Regions from separate parts of the Homo sapiens genome. Here region 1 is linked to region 2. Evidence: promoter capture Hi-C in 16 types of primary human blood cells and fetal thymus (Javierre and others, 2016). All regions are on one chromosome and are shown on one strand. Each heading gives the region's core, a stretch centred on a gene start or on the middle of the fragment in contact. The rest is flanking DNA. Distances are from core to core; before and after follow the strand shown.

What was found. The method cuts DNA at HindIII sites, captures the fragments that hold promoters and counts their contacts. A CHiCAGO score of 5 or more calls a contact.
Region 1: a contact is called between a fragment that was not itself captured here and the fragment with the promoter of GLUD1 in region 2, in 1 of 17 cell types (fetal thymus). The highest score is 8.4, in fetal thymus.

Annotation. Positions count from the first base shown.
Region 1 is chr10:92,843,379-92,847,152 of GRCh38, reverse strand. It overlaps a transcript of EXOC6 not described here. Among named protein-coding and RNA genes, the nearest start is that of EXOC6, 3.3 kb to the left of the region's middle. The HindIII fragment of the contact is 3,318 bases long and covers 1-2,953 here.
Region 2 is chr10:87,093,223-87,096,590 of GRCh38, reverse strand. GLUD1 (glutamate dehydrogenase 1) reads left to right here and starts at 1,748. Exons shown (of 13, transcript NM_005271.5): 1 at 1,748-2,266. The coding sequence starts at 1,822. SHLD2 (shieldin complex subunit 2) reads right to left here and starts at 1,385. Exons shown (of 10, transcript NM_001330112.2): 1 at 1,343-1,385. RefSeq lists enhancers at 735-794, 3,199-3,368 and silencers at 837-1,094, 1,015-1,714, 1,835-1,974, 2,175-2,514. The HindIII fragment of the contact is 4,292 bases long and covers 230-3,368 here.

The sequences.
Region 1 (3,774 bases), core at 45-2,544, 5.8 Mb before region 2:
AGTTCTGTACGTTAGAAGTCTGTCACAGGTCTCACTGGGCTAAAAATCAAGGTGTCAGCATGTCTGTGTTCCTTGCTAGAGACTCTGCGGGAGAATTTGTTTCTTTGCCTTTTCCAGCTTCTAGAGGCCACCCACATACCTTGGCTTGTGGCCCCCTTCCTCCATCTTCAAAGCTAGCAGCATTACATCTCTCTGACCATTCTTCTGTGGTCACATCTTCCTCTGACTCTGACTTAGGCTGGAAAAGATGCTCAGTTTTTAAGGACCCATATGATTAGAGTGGACCCAACCATTTAATCCAGGATAATCTTCCATCTCAGGGTCCTTAACCTTAATCACATATGCAATACCCCCTTTGTCATGTAAAAATAACATATGCACAGGTTCCAGGGATTAGAATGTGAGCATCAGTGGGACCCACTGCCTACCAAACTTAGGAAGGGCCCTATAAAACATTGCTAATGCCCTCCTTCCTATTAATCTGGAATCTTCAGAGCAATGGATTCCAGCTATACACATCCATTGAGCTAAGACAGTCTTCCATTTCCTGCAGAGAGACCTAGCTTTTCATTCTTTTTGTGGGAGGGGATAAAATTTGTCTTCTTTTTTTTATGTTTCAGTTTCAATTTTCAAAAGGTTATTTTCCCCTCTCAAGAACTTCTTAGGTCGAGCACAGTGGCTCACACCTATAATCCCAGAGCTTTGGGAGGCTGAGGCAGGAGGATTGCTTGAGCCCAGGAGTTCGAGGCTGCGGTGAACTATGATAATGAGCAAAATGAGGAGAGCAGGGCATGTGGCACAGGCCAGTTTCCTATTTGACCAATGTCTCCAGCTGGGGAATTACTTTCCTGATCATTCCTTCCCTAGAACTCTACCCCTTTTCTTCACCAGTCCTGATACCTTTTATTCCAAAGCTGGCTCCAAGTGCCCCTGCTCTGGGAAACCAGCCCTGCTTAGGCACTCCTCAGGCCAGCCCTGTTTCAACACCTGCCCATAGAGATTACTTCAACATAAGCAGCAGTATCTTCCCCGAAATTCAAGTGAACATGGAAGGAAGTCCATTTACCACTTCTCCTTCTGAAACAGTTTTTGCTGGTTCCCTCTGAGACTTCTGACAGTTCCGTGAGTACCTGGAGGTTTTAGCTAAGAATTCAAAGCTAAATGTCCTAAATAACTAATTGCACATTTGTTTTGTTTGTTTGGTTGGTTTTTTCGAGACAGAGTTTCGCTTTTGTTACCCAGGCTGGGTAACAATGGCGTGATCTTGGCTCACTGCAACCTCCGCCTCCTGGGTTCAAGTGATTCTCCTGCCTCAGCCTCCGGAGTAGCTGGGATTACAGGCACGTGCCACCACGCCCAGCTAATTTTGTATTTTTAGTAGAGACTGGGTTTCTCCATGTTGGTCAGGCTGGTCTCAAACTCCCGACCTCAGGTGATCTGCCCGCCTCGGCCTCCTAAAGTGTTGGGATTACAGGCGTGAGCCACCGTCCCCGGCCCTAACTGTACATTTTAATCATGGACATAGATATATCAAATATGTCAATGTGGGGTGGGGGAAGCCTATCCAAGGGATAAATGATTTTTTTTTTTTTTTTTTTTTGAGATGGAGTCTCTCTCTGTTGCCCAGGCTGGAGTGCAGTGGTGCGATCTTGGCTCACTGCAACCTCTGCCTCCCGCTTTCAAGCGATTCTCCTGCCTCAGTCTCCTGAGTAGCTGGGATTACAGGTACATGTCACCACATCCAGCTAATTTTTGTATTTATAGTAGAGATGGGCTTTCACCATGTTGGCCAGGCTGGTCTCACACTCCTTCCCTAAAGTGATTGCCCTGACTTGGCCTTCTGAAGTGCTGGGATTACAGGCATGAGCCACCACGCCCAGCCCCAAGGAGTGAATGATTTAACGTCTGCACTGAGAAGGTTGCGGAGTAGCAGGGCACAGACAGGCAGATTGCAGATGCATGTGGAATTATTTTTTGGCAGTGGATATTGACTTCCAGAGATCAATCCAAAATCTCTTTTCAGGACTCCTGGAAGAAGAAAGATACACCAGGAAGACCAGCAGGACAGGAGATGCATTTTGTGTCCAGTATAAAAGTAATTGGCAAAGTAAGGATTTGACTTGTAAATAAACTCTTAGTCATTAGGAACTTAACTTTGCGCCTTTTATCTACAGACTAATGACCTGTCTTGGGAAAGCGCCTCCCTCAGAATGAGGTTGTAGAGTGCAACTGCTCTGGTCTGGCATTTAACTACTTGAATTCAAATTCCAACTCATCTCTTACTAGATGTCAGGCCTCAGGGAGTTACTTAACTTGACTAAGGCTCACGTTCTTCAAGTGTGAATTAAGGACAATAAGAATCCCTAGCTCACCAAATTATGTGAGGATTAAAGAAGATAATATATGTATTATGTTTAGCCTAGAGCTCAATCAACATTAGCATTGGCGACTAGGGTTATCAGGCATTTGCTAGTAAGCCAGAGAGCCCAGCATTTTAGCCTCCTCTTTGATAAAATAAAAATAAAAACCAGACACATAAATGTTCTTTTTCCTAATCATTAAAAAAAAACCTGATTGTGTATCAGGGTTTTCTGCATGTTTGGTGGATGTAAACCAACTGAAATATGTTTCCTGCTTTTGTAGAGAGGGAAACAGGAACATGTCTTTGGGTTGGATTCTTGGTTCCAGACCCATTTTAGTGAACCCTCTGGATCCTGCGCTTTTAAGGCAAGCACCTTTCGTTGTCCTTGGGAGCAGTGCTCACTCATCCTTGGAAGCACATATCATGGTGGTGAACAAATCACTGAGTCTGTCTCCATTTCCAGGAACTGCTCCTACATCAGGCACAGGGACGATGCCTGTATTGTTCACTGCCCAGCCCAGTGCCTTGCATATAGTAGAGGCTCAATTAATAAGTGAATGATCCACATGCAAATACTTGTCGTATTAAGCTTAATGTTGTAAATGGCATGTTTTTCTTTTTTTTCCTTTTTTTTTTTTTCTGAGACACAGTCTTGCTCTGTCACCAGGCTGGAGTGCAGTGGCGCGATCTCGGCTCACTGCAACCTCCGCCCTCCAAGTTCAAGTGATTCCCCTGCCTCAGCCTTCTGTGTAGCTGGGACTACAGGCACGTGCCACCACGCCCAGCTAATTTTTTTTTTTTTTTTTTTTTTTTTGAGACAGAGTCTCGCTCTGTCGCCCAGGCTGGAGTGCGGTGGTGCAGTCTCGGCTCACTGCAGCCTCCACCTCCAAGGTTCAAGCAGTTCTCTCCCGAGTAACTGGGATTACAGGTGCCAGCCACCACGCCCGGCTAATTTTTGTATTTTTAGTAGAGACAGGGTTTCACCATCTTGGCCAGGCTGGTCTTGAACTCCTGACATCGTGATCCACCCACCTCGGGCTCCCGAAGTGCTTGGATTACAGGCGGGAGCCACCGCGACGGCCCACTCAGCTAATTTTTTGTATTTTACTAGAGATGGAGTTTCACCATGTTGGCCAGGATGGTCTCGATCTCTTGACCTTGTGATCCGCCGCCTCGGCCTCCCAAAGTGCTGGGATTACAGGCGTGAGCCACCGCGCCCGGCCAAATGCATGCTTTTAGAGGTAGGGTACACATTTACAAAAAGATTCCCCTCCTCACCCCTGGGAACCCTATCATTATCCTCGCAAAACTTTACATCATTCAAATGTTTCTTAAAGAGTTTTAGAGCTCTTGTTATAGAATTATAGAACTGTATCAAAATGTAAAGTACAGGCAGTCTTTATACATTGGCT
Region 2 (3,368 bases), core at 499-2,998:
TTATTTTTTATTTTCTTTTTATAGAGACGAGCCCAGGCTGGTCTTGAACTCCTGGCCTCAAGCGATCAGCCTGCTTTGGCCCCCAAAGTGCTGGGATTACAGGCGTGAGCCACCGTGCCAGCCTCGTTAGTTTGAAAAGCACCAAAAGCTATCCATAGGAATGTGAACTTTAGCATTTCCTATCAAGTATGTATAAATACATAACTGAACCCTCATACAGCATAAAGCTTATAAATCATATACTGAGGCCAGGCGCGGTGGCTCACGTCTGTAATCCCAGCATTCTGGGAGGCCTAGGCGGGCGGATCACTTGAGGTCAGGCGTTGGAGACCAGCCTGGCCAGCACAGCGAAACCCCGTCTCTACTAAAAATGCAAAAATTAGCCGGGCGTGGTGGCGCGGGCCTGTAATCCCAGCTACCCCGAGGCTGAGGCAGGAGAATCGCTAGAACGAACCCAGGGAGGTGGAAGCTGCAGTGAGCCGAGATGGTGCCACTACACTCCCGCCTGGGCGACAGAGCAAGATTCCATCTCAAATAAATAAATAAAATAAAAAATAAATCATATACTGAACCATTTAACAAATACATATATTCCTGAGAAAGAATTTCCTGGGGGCATTATCGCATTTCTAGTTTCCTTATTTTAGACTATTTCAGAGGGAGATAGGGTCTCCCTCTGTTGCCCAGGCTGGGGTGCAGTGGAGCTATCGTAGCTCACTGCAGCCTCGAACTCCTGGGCTCAAGCCATCCTCCAGCCTCGACCTCCCAAAGTGCTAGGACTAAAGGCGTGAGCCACCGCGCCGGGCCGGAGCCTCTGTCTGCAAAGGTGAAGCAGTCAGTACTGTGGGGCGACACAACCACGACGTGCGTAACTATGCGATCTCCACACTGCGGAGCAGTTGAACGGGACAATAAAAGCTCGCGTGGTGAGAGCTTGTGGGCGAGTGACTCCCTTCCAGCTCACGCCAGCCACGCATAATCCAACTCCGGGTGCCACGCCGCTCTCTGCAGCCCTGGCTGGTGACGCCGAGCCCTCAGCCCGGCCTTACGCGGCGGCGGCTCTGCCTCGCTTTCCTGCCCACGTGTCAGCCCCTGCACGCCCGGCCCCGGCCTGAGGCCGCCAGAGGACAGGCCAGGGTGGGCCGCCCGTTCCGAGGGCGCGCGGGCGGAAAGGAGGGGCGCCCGTGACTCACATGACCCGGTCCCCGACCAGACCGCCAAGCCTCACCCACGCGGCGCTCGGGGGGACTCGGCCTCTGAGCGCCCTACAGAGGCCAGCCCCCGACCCCGACCTCCCTGGGCTACCCCCAACCCCCCTGAGGGACCCCCGCGGCGCACATACCTGAGAGCCCCGCCGGAGGCGGGTGCGGCCTCCGGGCAAATCCGGCCGCCCGTGGGCCCGCCCCGACCCGCCCCGACCCGCCCCGACCTTCCCCTCCCTGCCCCTCCCGTCCGTTCCCCTCCACTCTCCTCCCCGCCCTTCCTCTCCCCTCCCCTCCCTTCCCCACTGGCGCGCGAGCGTGCGCGCCGAGCCCGCCCGCGCCTGCGCGCCCCCGACGCCCCGCCGGCGCGCGCTGCCGCCAGCGAGGCCCGGGGAGGCCGCGGCGGAGGCGGAGGCCCGGCGCCCTGGGCGGCGCCCTGTCCCCGAAGTCCGTCCTCCCCGTTAGGTGGCGAGCGCCCGAGGGGAGGGGACAGCCGGGCAAGCAGGAAGCTGCGGCTTAAAAGGGCAACCCGCGCGGGACCCTTCCTCCCTAGTCGCGGGGAGTCTGAGAAAGCGCGCCTGTTTCGCGACCATCACGCACCTCCCCTCCGCTTGTGGCCATGTACCGCTACCTGGGCGAAGCGCTGTTGCTGTCCCGGGCCGGGCCCGCTGCCCTGGGCTCGGCGTCCGCCGACTCGGCCGCGTTGCTGGGCTGGGCCCGGGGACAGCCCGCCGCCGCCCCGCAGCCGGGGCTGGCATTGGCCGCCCGGCGCCACTACAGCGAGGCGGTGGCCGACCGCGAGGACGACCCCAACTTCTTCAAGATGGTGGAGGGCTTCTTCGATCGCGGCGCCAGCATCGTGGAGGACAAGCTGGTGGAGGACCTGAGGACCCGGGAGAGCGAGGAGCAGAAGCGGAACCGGGTGCGCGGCATCCTGCGGATCATCAAGCCCTGCAACCATGTGCTGAGTCTCTCCTTCCCCATCCGGCGCGACGACGGCTCCTGGGAGGTCATCGAAGGCTACCGGGCCCAGCACAGCCAGCACCGCACGCCCTGCAAGGGAGGTGAGCGTCGGCCGGGCCCCGTCCCGCCCTCCCTGCCTCCCCTGCGGCCCTCCCCTCCGGCCTCCTGCCGGTGCGGGGCCGCTGCTCAGCCCAGCCCAGCCCAGCTGGAGCGGGCCGGGTCCCCGCCCGGGTCACCCCGCCTCGGATGTGGCCGGCTCTGTGGATGGTGATTTTTCCGCCTTAAAATCATCATGCGATTGGCCTGCCCCCTCCCCCGCGCCGTCACCCCGGGCCTCTGTATATGCTGATCTTGCATGCAGAGTAGACGCTGCACCGGTCTCCTTTTGGTCCCGGTGTCTGTGTCACACACGGCGGGTCCTGCCGAAATGCACTTCTAGGAAAGGGAATGACCTGCCCGTGTGATAATGCCTCGTCAGTGTTCTTGGGCTTTTGTGAGTCTCCCCTAAATGCAAGCTGTCAAATTATTTTCTGGTATTTGTTCACTCCTGTTCCAATAGTGACAGATGATATCCGAACATAGAAAATGACTTGGCTTCTAAGTTTGAAATCTAGACAGTTTTATTAACCAAAGGAATTTACTAATCACGCGTTAATCGTTTCAATTAAGTAATTTTCCCATTCTGACAAGTTCTGTTTTATACCAAAAAAAAGGAAAAACACAAAAAAATCACAAGCAATGTAATATCTCTGACAAATAAACACCTGGCGTCCTGACAGTAAATTTACAGGTTGTAGGCTGCGGATGGCCAGCCAGCCAATGGAATGAAATAGCTCTGGGGGTGTGTACTGGTCCTGGCTAGCCCTGAATTTGAGCTTCAGGAAAAATATAGTACGTGAAGAAAGGGGTCAGATAATGTTTGGTAGTCACTGGGTTATCCTGTGGTTTAAATCATTTAATGTCTGTAGATTTGGCCTCTGTAGTCAGATTGCTTTCTTCGAGCAAATAAGAGCTTTTTTCCCCCCAATACATTGCATCATACCTCTTTAGTAACATAAAATGGAAAGGACAAACCACTTTTGTCTACTGTAAAAAAGAAAAATTATATGGAATAAAGAGCCCAGGGAGGCGAGGAGTCTTGTTGGAGGTGGATTGGCTGAGAAGCACAGAGGATGTTGGGCTAGACCCATGTCTCAGTAAACC